Regions from separate parts of the Homo sapiens genome. Here regions 1 and 3 are each linked to region 2. The links are contacts of gene promoters, found by promoter capture Hi-C in human tissues and cell types (Jung and others, 2019). All regions are on one chromosome and are shown on one strand. Each heading gives the region's core, a stretch centred on a gene start or on the middle of the fragment in contact. The rest is flanking DNA. Distances are from core to core; before and after follow the strand shown. Region 1 overlaps MTPAP (mitochondrial poly(A) polymerase). Region 2 holds the start of LYZL2 (lysozyme like 2). Region 3 overlaps MTPAP (mitochondrial poly(A) polymerase).

The links. The method cuts DNA at HindIII sites, captures the fragments that hold promoters and counts their contacts. A contact is called where the count stands out against the background at its distance.
Region 1: a contact is called between a fragment that was not itself captured here and the fragment with the promoter of LYZL2 in region 2, in 2 of the 25 tissues and cell types used here (lymphoblastoid cells and spleen).
Region 3: a fragment that was not itself captured here is called in contact with the fragment with the promoter of LYZL2 in region 2 in 2 of the 25 tissues and cell types used here (lymphoblastoid cells and mesenchymal stem cells).

Annotation. Positions count from the first base shown.
Region 1 is chr10:30,316,749-30,320,063 of GRCh38, reverse strand. All of the region lies in intron 6 of MTPAP (mitochondrial poly(A) polymerase), which reads left to right. Among named protein-coding and RNA genes, the nearest start is that of MTPAP, 31 kb to the left of the region's middle. The HindIII fragment of the contact is 3,837 bases long and covers 1-3,315 here.
Region 2 is chr10:30,628,051-30,631,354 of GRCh38, reverse strand. LYZL2 (lysozyme like 2) reads left to right here and starts at 1,602. Exons shown (of 5, transcript NM_183058.3): 1 at 1,602-1,762. The HindIII fragment of the contact is 10,435 bases long and covers 1-3,304 here.
Region 3 is chr10:30,337,224-30,340,674 of GRCh38, reverse strand. It overlaps MTPAP (mitochondrial poly(A) polymerase), which reads left to right. Exons shown (of 9, transcript NM_018109.4): 3 at 225-449. Among named protein-coding and RNA genes, the nearest start is that of MTPAP, 10 kb to the left of the region's middle. The HindIII fragment of the contact is 6,752 bases long and covers 1-3,451 here.

The sequences.
Region 1 (3,315 bases), core at 626-3,125, 310 kb after region 2:
GCTGGTCTCAAACTCCTAGGCTCAAGCGATCCTTCTCAGCCTCCCCAAGTGCTGGGATTTTAAATGACCTGTTGAGTTTTTAATTCCAAATCTACATTAAAATACATTTAAATATGTTCACATCGTATAGCATCAAAACAGGCAAAACTAGCTTGGAATTCTTTAATATTTCACTTGAAACATCAAATTTGATTGTTTTTAAATTTTTGCAGTAGTTTTTAAATACGGTAAGAGAATTTTTCAGGCTAGTTTTTGCAATTGCTTCTCGGCATATAGCACATTGTAGGTGCGAATTGCCAATAAATGCCAAGCAAAATACACTTTTTGCCTTCCATCACCTATGGTTTTTGAAGTTGCTGTAAAAGAACTTGTCTTAGATTAATGTATATTAAGAATTTGGTGAAGATCATTTTGAGGAGAATTTATCAATATTTTCCTTTTCCTTTTTTTTCCCTCCAAAATCCATGGTTTTTATACTTTCTAATTTTGACCAGTAGTTCAACTTTGGTGGACATTAAACCTAAGGAAGAAAACAATTTTAAACTGTGAAACAATCAAAACCATATTGAGTACTTGGTGTTTAATCATGTAAGTGACCTGAATCTTGTGTACAATCATTTCATTTCTTCTAAGCTGTACCTCTCATTTGATATACAAATAATCAATTTGTTCTTTTTTAAAAGAAAAAATATTTTATTTGCTTCCTTGCTTGTTTATTAATAGAAGGCAACATGAATTCCTAGAATACCTTCCAGAACTTCTAGGATTTTGTAAACTACTATTTAGAACCTAAGCTAAGCTAAAGACCAAACTTTTTCACATTGTATGCAGGGCCCTTTATCACCTTCCTTTTTATCCTCTTCTTTTACGTTGATTCCTGTATACCAGTTGGGAGCTTTAGCCACTCTTGAACTCCTTGATGATCCCTGATGTTTTGTGCTTTTTTTCATTGCTCCATGCTTTTGCCTGAAATGGCCTTCTCCCAGCCTCCCCCTCCCAGCCACCCCGCTTTTTTTTATGGAGAATCTCAAGATTAAGCCAGAGAAGACAGACAAACCTAGTACAGGATCTCATCTGTTAGGTCTTTTCTTGCTGTCCTCTCTGCTTCCCAGTGGGTAGTGCTTTGTTGGTTTCCAAGCTCTTGGTACACACCTGTATTGTAACAACTGTTAGATTGTTGTAGTTCTTTTATGTGCCTGCCTCAGCATTGTCAAGCTTTTCTAGGGCTAGCTGTCTGCTTCACCTCTGCGTCTTCTGTTCTCGGAATAGTATTGGGTTCATAGTAGGAGTTCACTATGTAGATTTCAAAATGATTGGATAACATTTTAAAGTTGAGGGCTGTTTGTACTGGGCAAGATGGACCATGATATTAACTTTCATATTTGGTTCCTCTTGAATTGCCCTGTTTATTTGTGTTTTCTTATAATCTCCACTGTGTTCTCTCATATGTCTCATTTTCTTGTGTTTTCCATGCTTTCTGGCTTTGCTACTTTTGTTACATTTACTTCTGTGCTTAGTGCTTTAATTGAAGATTCATTCCTGAAAAAAGACACAGCAGCTAAAAGAGCATCAATATATGTGACTGACACTGCATCACAAAAAAACATACACTGTTAATTACTTGAAATAGTAAAACATGTGCTCAGGTTCCTTAAAAATAGATCTAAGTAGAAATATATATACATACATACATTTTATATAGCTCCTTCAACATATTATAAATTGTATAGTAGAGCACGTAAAATGTGCTATTAAAATGTTAAAACCTAGAATAATTTTTGAGAAATTATGCAGGTAACCAGGTCTTGACAAAAAAATGACAAAAAACACAAAAAATGGGAGATAAATTTATAGGAGGCTTATTTATCTCTCTGGTGATTATAGGCATTTAAAGTCAAATATCAGGGCCGGGCACGGTGGCTCACGCCTGTAATCCTAGCATTTTGGGAGGCCGAGGCGAGTGGATCACTTAAGGTCAGGAGTTTGAGACCAGCCTGGCCAATATAGTGAAACCCTGTCTCTAACTAAAAATATAAAAATTAGCCGGGTGTGGTGGTGTTCGCCTGTAGTTCCGGCTACTCAGGAGGCTGGGGCAGGAGAATCACTTGAAGCCGGGACGCGGAAGTTGCAGTGAGCCAAGGTCACGCCGCCACTGCACTTCAGCCTGGGTGACAGAGCCAGATTCCATCTCAAAAAAAAAATTAAAATATCAGCAGTCATCCAGATTATTGATTATATACCTGCTATATGCTAGATGCTCATTGGGGGCAGGTCGGTGGTGGGGAGTTGGGCAATAATGAATAGGACAGTGGCCTTTGTAATTCCTGACTGGGGCAGAGGAGTGGACAGCATACAAACAGTCACAATGCAGTCAGATAAGTCAAATGGTGAATGGAACAAAAAGGATGGAAAACCAGTTTGGAATTATGAAATGCTTTCAGATAGGAAGTAGCCATTGATGAGATTTCTGAAGAGTGGGAATTTGCTCTTGAAAACAGCATAGTATCTGTTGCAGATAGTGTGGGCCAGGGATTTCATGGTGGTTGTATATTTATGAAAATGATTACCTCTTAAGATATAAATACTAGTAGGAAAGGTGAATATCTGAGTCTAACGTGCTGTTATTGAGTTTGTTTTGCTGAATTACTGAATTCCAGTTAGTCTAGAGTGCTACATTTTAGAAATTACCTGAAGCTTTTTTAGTTAGCATTCAGTTTGTGTCGTGTATGAAGATGATAAGAATGGAATTGGAGATGTAAATTAAGTATTGACTAGAGGTAGTGCTGAAATTTGGTTTGGTGAAAGATGGGGGAACTCCCTACATTTCCATCTACTGTTAGAAAACTGATTACCTCAAAAATTGATTAGGAATCATTGGGTTGTTGAAAGACAATAATTCTAGTATGCTAAATTAAATGTAATGTTAATTTCACTGTGGCATAACTAGTCTCAAATCTTTTTTTAAAATATAACTCCATTAAAAGAAGATAAAAAGATTTGAGATTAGTTATGCCATAGTGAAATTAACATCATTAAATCATAGACAAGAAATTATAGATTAAATCGTTATTTAATCATTCAGTCATAATTATTCAATCATTTATAAAATCTGTGATTTAAATAAAGAATAGAGTAGAAATTTACTTAAATTTGTTTTGTTTTGTTTTGTTTTGTTTTTTGAGATGGAGTCTTGCTCTCTTGCCCAGGCAACAGTGATGTGATCTCAGCTCATTGCAACCTCCGCCTCCTGGGTTCAAGCGATTCTCGTGCCTCAGCCTCTTCAGTAGCTAGGATTACAGGAGCAAGCCACCATGC
Region 2 (3,304 bases), core at 353-2,852:
TCTATTTTCTCATTGACTATAAAATTCCTATTTCAAAGCACTTTGAAAAAGATGTTTGAAGAAAAACCTATGTATTTTCTCGTATTATAGACAATTCACAAGAAAAAGCACACAGGCCAGATGCCGTGGATCATGCCTATAATTTCAGCACTTTGGGAGGTTGAGGCGAGCAGATTGCTTGAGATCAGGAGTTTGAGACCAGTCTGGCAGACATGGTGAAACACCATCTCTACTAAAAATACAAAAATTATCTGGGCGTGGGGGCACATGCCTGTAATACCAGCTACTCGGGAGGCTGAGGCACGAGAATCGCTTCAACCTGCGAGGTGGAGGTTGCAATGAGCCGAGATCACACTACTGAGCTCCAGCCTGGACAACAGAGGGAGACTCTGTCTCAATTAAAAAAAAAAAAAAAGAGAGAGAGAGAGAGAAAAAAGTCCACAAATGGCTTCTGAAGATAAGAAAAGATGCTCAGACAGCTTGAAATAAGGGAAGCTGAAATTGAAACTTTGCTGACAAATTATGTTTCATCTCTAATATTAGCAAATATCTTAACCTTTGGTAATAGGGTATGCTAGCCATCTTCGTCATACAAGCCCACGTGGAAGGCAATTTGGCAATATCTAGCAAAATTACAAAATTACAGTCCTTAACCCAGCAATTCAATTTCCAGGAATGTATCCTACAGATATTCTTGCAAATGTACAAATGACAAATGTACAAGATTACTAATTGTAATATGTTTATCATAGAAGAAAAAAATACCTTAAGTGTGAGTCAATATGGAATTGGCTAAATATGTTATATCTACACAATGTAATACTATATAAACTTAAAACTAGATTTCAACAAGATCTTTGCATTATTTGCAGATGGAATTTAATAAAATACAATAATTAGTTAGGTACAACTAACAACAAACTTATACTGAGATCTACATATTCCAATGAGAATTCATTTCAAATGTGTCATTAAATCTGAACACAGAAATAAATGGACCTTCAAACTAGCTCTTTATTGAGTCACAAAGTGTTAAGCCAAATTTTTAAAAAACAATGAAATCATGTTAATTATACATAAAAATTTTTTATTTCTTTTGTGGCCCTCCTTTGACAATATTTTATTAATTAACAATATAACTATAGCAAAGAAATGTGCTGTTAATTAATTTTTAATGTTAATTTCACCTCTCATTCATTTTCAGATTTTAGTTTTGTGTATGTTGATAATTTATGTAGCATATTAGTACAGAGGTACAGAAGTGTGATTTATAATTTAATATACATCTAAAGAGGATACATGCTTAACTTTATTAATGGAATTTGTGATAAAGTTTGCAGACTGTTGCCTTAGAGAAGAGCTCTCACTTGGACGGGAGGCCCTGGCCAAGTTGTGTAGTGAGGACAGTTGTTGAGAGGAAAAGAGAAAAAACGAGAGGTATTAAGGCCCAGAAGAGAGTTAGCACCTGCTTCAGAACACAAGCGTGCAGGATGATATAGCTTTTAGTGCCAAGAAGTAGAATTCTAGCATCTCTAGGTGGTGAGAAACAAAGGACTAAGAATTTTTCTTTCTCTAACACTCTAAAGAAAGGTTCTTGAGCTAGGAAAGGATTACTCGAGCCTTGTTAGAATCAGACATGGCTTCAGGGGATGCAGGACGCTCCCCTGAGCTGCCTGTCACCGACTAAGTGGAGCAGTGTTTCTTCCGCAGACTCAACTGAGAAGTCAGCCTCTGCGGCAGGCACCAGGAATCTGCCTTTTCAGTAAGACCTAAATTACTCTTATGAAGCCACCTGTCCCTGAGAACCAGCAATGGCAGGTTCTTGAAGGATGTAGAACATGATGCTTGGGGTTATCATTGCTACGGGTTTTGTTTTGACTTGTTTGAGATCAGTTAACATTCTAAGGCAGAGGATGGAAACCAACCTTATTTGTAAGCTCTGCATCTTTTTTTTTTTTTTTGAAACAGGATGTCACTCTGTTGCCCAGGCTGGAGTGCAGTGGCACAATCACAACTCACAACAGCCTCAACCTCCCAGCCTTAAAAGATCCTCCCACCTCAGCCTCCCAAACAGGTGGGACCACAGTCACACACCACTATGCCTGGCTAATTTTTGTGTATTTTGTAGTGACAGAGGTCTACCTTTGTTGCCCAGGCTGGTCTCAAACTCCTGGCTTCAAGCAATTTGCCCTTTTCACCCTCACAAAGTGCTGAGATTACAGGTGTGGGCCACCATGCCCAGCCTAAGCTCTGCATCTTAAACCTCGTTTGTCTGTCCCTCACAGCTTAGCACAATGCTGTACACCACGGACTGGCATGATCTCTCTGAAAAGGGCCAGATAATAATATGTTAGGCTTTGTGGTCTATACAGCCTCTAACACAGCTACTCAACTCTGCCACTGCAGCAGGAAATCAGCCACCAACAATATATTACCAAATGATGAGAGTAGCTATGTTTCAATAAAACTTTACATACAAAAGCGGGCCTGGTTTGCCCACGCTTGCTATTCACGTTTGTAATGTACATGCCCCTCATGCAATGCAGTTCCTTATCTTATTGCTTAGTCACCTTAAAGCCCTGCTTGTTACTCGGTGCGGTGGCCTTGCTGATGACTACTTATCCCTGTTTTGGGCCTAGCCTTTCAATGCAGGAATCCAGCCCCAGGGAGAGAAACTAATGACTAGAGAAGTTTCCAGGCAAGTGCAGAAAATGACACGGGATGAACATATGTAAGAACATCAAGTTCAGGATCCCGAGTAGTTGTCAGAAATTTCACTTCACCCCATCCCAGCAAGGCTGTTGTGTTTGGGGAAGACATTATTTTAAGAGGGGAGGAGATTGTGGAAAATCAGTAGGCAGCAGGAGACAGCGCTCTTGATCCTACTCCCATTTCAGACGATTCTATGGGGGCCTCTTTATTGTCCCTCTGCTCCCCCAGGTGCTTTCCTCCTTTCATGAGGCTTTGTCCTCCATCCCTCTTGCTCCCCAGTCAGGTGCCAGACTTTTAGGAGGCCGCCCGGAGCACTGGTTGTGAAGCTTAGCAAAGCAATGCATTTGCAATCTAAGATAAAACACTAGTACTTTGGAAGCAATGCTCCCACATTTTGAAATGCATCAAGAAAAGAAAAGGAAAGATTAGGTGCTTAATCTTCACCCTTCAATAAACCCCCAAACGATGAATCTTTTTTTTTTTGAGGCGGAGTCTCGCTCTGTCGCCCAGGCTGGAGTGCAGTGGCGCAATCTCCGCTCACTGCAAGCTCAGCCTCCTGGGTTCACGCCATTCTCCTGCCTCAGCCTCCCGA
Region 3 (3,451 bases), core at 323-2,822, 290 kb after region 2:
AGTGCTGGGATTACAAGCGTGAGCCACTGCGCCCGGCCCAGTGTTCCTTTTCTTCATCTACTTAAATTGAATAAAATTAATGCTATGTTAGAATCATATCATTTGTAAATTTTAAAGACTTGATATTTTGTAGCATTATGATAATTGTTTTAATATATGAGCTAAAATAGTATGTTAGATATATCGTGAAATGTGTTCTGTTTTTTCTTATGTTTTTGGTATAGGGTCTCTATGCTGTCGTAGAATTTTGCCAAAAGGAAAGCATAGGTTCACTGCAGAATGGGACTCATACTCCAAGCACGGCCATGGAGACTGCAATTCCATTCAGATCACGTTTCTTCAATCTGAAGTTGAAAAACCAGACTTCTGAACGGTCACGCGTACGGTCAAGTAATCAGTTGCCACGTTCAAACAAGCAGCTTTTTGAATTACTTTGTTATGCAGAAAGTGTAAGTTTTTAGGTGTACCTCAACTTTTAGAACTATGTATTTTTTTATGAACAATAAAGATTCCTGTAAAATGTTCAAGCTACATTATTGTTTAATGGGTATAGATCTTCAGTTTTACAAGGTGAAAAGAGTTACGGAGATGAATCGTGGTGGTGGATGCATAATGAGATGAAGGAAAGTTTTTTTCTATTTCTAGCTTTCTAAGAATGTCGTCATGCTCAACACATTGAGTAGATGTTGAGTTTTGACATTTGAGATGGTATTGATGACTGGCATATGGTCTTGAGATTGTATATGGTTCCTAATGTCTTTTTCTTTCCCCTCCTAATGTCTTAACGTAGTGAATTGTAGATTCACTGTAGATTTCCTCATGTCAAGTCATTCTTGCATTCACAGAATAAACCCTACTTAGTCAAGGTGTATTTACAAAAATGCATTATTACATTTGTCGTGCTAATATTTTTATTACAATTTTAATATCTCTATAAATAAATGGGATTGCTTTTAAAAATTCAAACTACAGGATATGTTGAATGAAAAGTGATAGTAATCCTTGTCTGCTCCTTCCCCGCCATGCCCCATTTGTACTTACAGGTAACCACATTCTTCTGAAGTTTTCGGCCTTTTGAACAGTTTAGGTTTTCTTTCTCTTTCCAGCATAATGACATAAAATTGTACATGGTTTTCTGTCAATTTTAAAATGTCTTCTTTCTGATTCTCTCTCTCTTTTTTTTTTTTTTTTTTTGAGATGGAGTCTCGCTCTTGCCCAGGCTGGAGTGCAGTGGCATGATCTTGGCTTACTGCAACTGCTCCCCGATTCAAGCAATTCTCATGCCTCAGCTGCCCAAGTAGCTGGGACTACAGGTGTGCACCACCACACCCAGCTAACTTTTGTATTTTTAGTAGTGACGGAGTTTCGCCACTTTGGCCAGGCTGGTCTCGAACTCCTGACCTCAGGTGATGTGCCCACTTCGGCCTCCCAAACTGCTGGGATTATAGGTGTGAGCCACTACGCCCGGCCCAAGATTCTGTCTCTTCTGTGTTCAAATATTGTTTGTATTTGTCTTGGTGTTTTTTTGTTTGTTTGTTTTTGTTTTTGTTTTGAGACGGACTCTTGCTCTGTCGCCCAGGCTGGAGTGCAGTGGCGTGATCTCAGCTCACTTCAAGCTCCACCTCCTGGGTTCACGCCATTCTCTTGCCTCAGCCTCTCAAGTAGCTGGGACTACAGGCGCCCACCACCATGCCCGGCTAATTTTTTGTATTTTTATTAGAGACGGGGTTTCACTGAGTTAGCCAGGATGGTCTCGATCTCCTGACCTTGTGATCCGCCCGCCTTGGCCTCCCAAAGTGCTGGGATTATAGGCGTGAGCCACTGCACCTGGCCTGTCTTGGTGTTTCTTACTCAGACTTGCCAGACCTTGCTAGTCTTTCCAAAGAATCAACTCATGGCTTTATTTATCAAAATATTATTTTCAAGGTTTAATTTTCTAATAAGAAAATTTTTGCTTCTAATCTATTTCCTTTACTTTTATTGTTATTATTATTATTTTGAGACAGAGTTTTGCTCTTGTTGCCCAGGCTGGAGTGCAATGGCCTGATCGTGGCTCACTGCAACCTCCGCCTCCCAGGTTCAAGCGATTCTCCTGCCTCAGCCTCCCAAGTAGCAGGGATTACAGGCACGCGCCATCACACCTGGCTAATTTTTTGTATTTTTAGTAGATTTGGGGTTTCACCACGTTGGCCAGGCTGGTCTCTAACTCCTGATCTCATGTGATCTGCCTGCCTTGGCCTCCCAAAGTGCTGGGATTACAGGCATGAGCCACCGAGCCCGGCCTCTTTTATTATTTTTGAGTTGAATGCTTAGTTCAGTTCAGTTCAGTTATGTTACGTTATGTTATGTTATGTTAATGTTATGTTGTTATGTTAATGTTATGTTGTTATGTTATGTTATGTTACGTTATTTTTTGAGGTGGAGTCTTGCTCTGTTGCCCAGGCTGGAGTGCAGTGGTGCAATCTCAGCTCACTGTAGCTGCATACTCCTGGACTCAAGTGACCCACCTCAGCCTTCTGAGTAGCTGAGACTACAGATGCATTCCACCATGCCCAGCTAGTTTTTGTATTTTTTTTTTTGGTAGAGTCAGGGTTTCATCACGTTGCCCAGGCTGGTCTCACTCCTGAGCTCAAGCGATCCTCCCGCCTTGGCCTCCCAGTAGTTCACAGGTGTGAGCCACTGTGCCCAGCCAGTTGATATTTTCAATGTTGGTTTCAAATAAGAGCATTTGAAGTTACGATTTTTTTTCACTTCAGATACTCCAGTACACAATTTCAGTATGTGATCATTTTAATGCCAGTCTTCTAGTGGATAGACAGGATTGTTATTCTGAGAAACTGAGAGGTCTTGGGCCTTCATTACTTGAGTATTTCTAGTTTTTCTTGCCCTTTAACATTGGTCTTTCATCCCTTTGAGTTTAAAATGTCTAACGTGGTTGTTTTAACCTCTTCTGGAGTACTTTACTACTTTCATTTTCTTAAAACAATACTTTATACTCATCGCTTACAAAGTTTTAATTCTAGCCAACTTTCATTTTGCTAGTGGCATTCCTCAGAGCTTTTTAAAAATTTTAAAATATTATATAATTTATTTCTTTAGTGAAATAGAGACGAGGTCCTGCTGTGTTGCTTAGGCTGATCTCAAACTCCTTGCCTCATATGATCCGCCTTGGCCTTCCAAAGTATTGAGATTACAGGCATGAGCCACCGCGCCTGGCCTTCTCAGTGGTTTTTAAAGAGTATTTTTTTTTGAGACGGAGTCTTGTTCTTGTTGCCCAGGCTGGAGTGCAATGGTGCGATCTTGGCTCACCACAACCTCTGCCTCCTGGGTTCAAGCGATTCTCCTGCCTCAGCCTCCTGAGTAGCTGGGATTACAGGTATGCGCCACCACGCCCGGCTTATTTTGTATTTTTAGTAGAGATTGGGTTTCTCCATGTTGGTCAGGCTGGTCG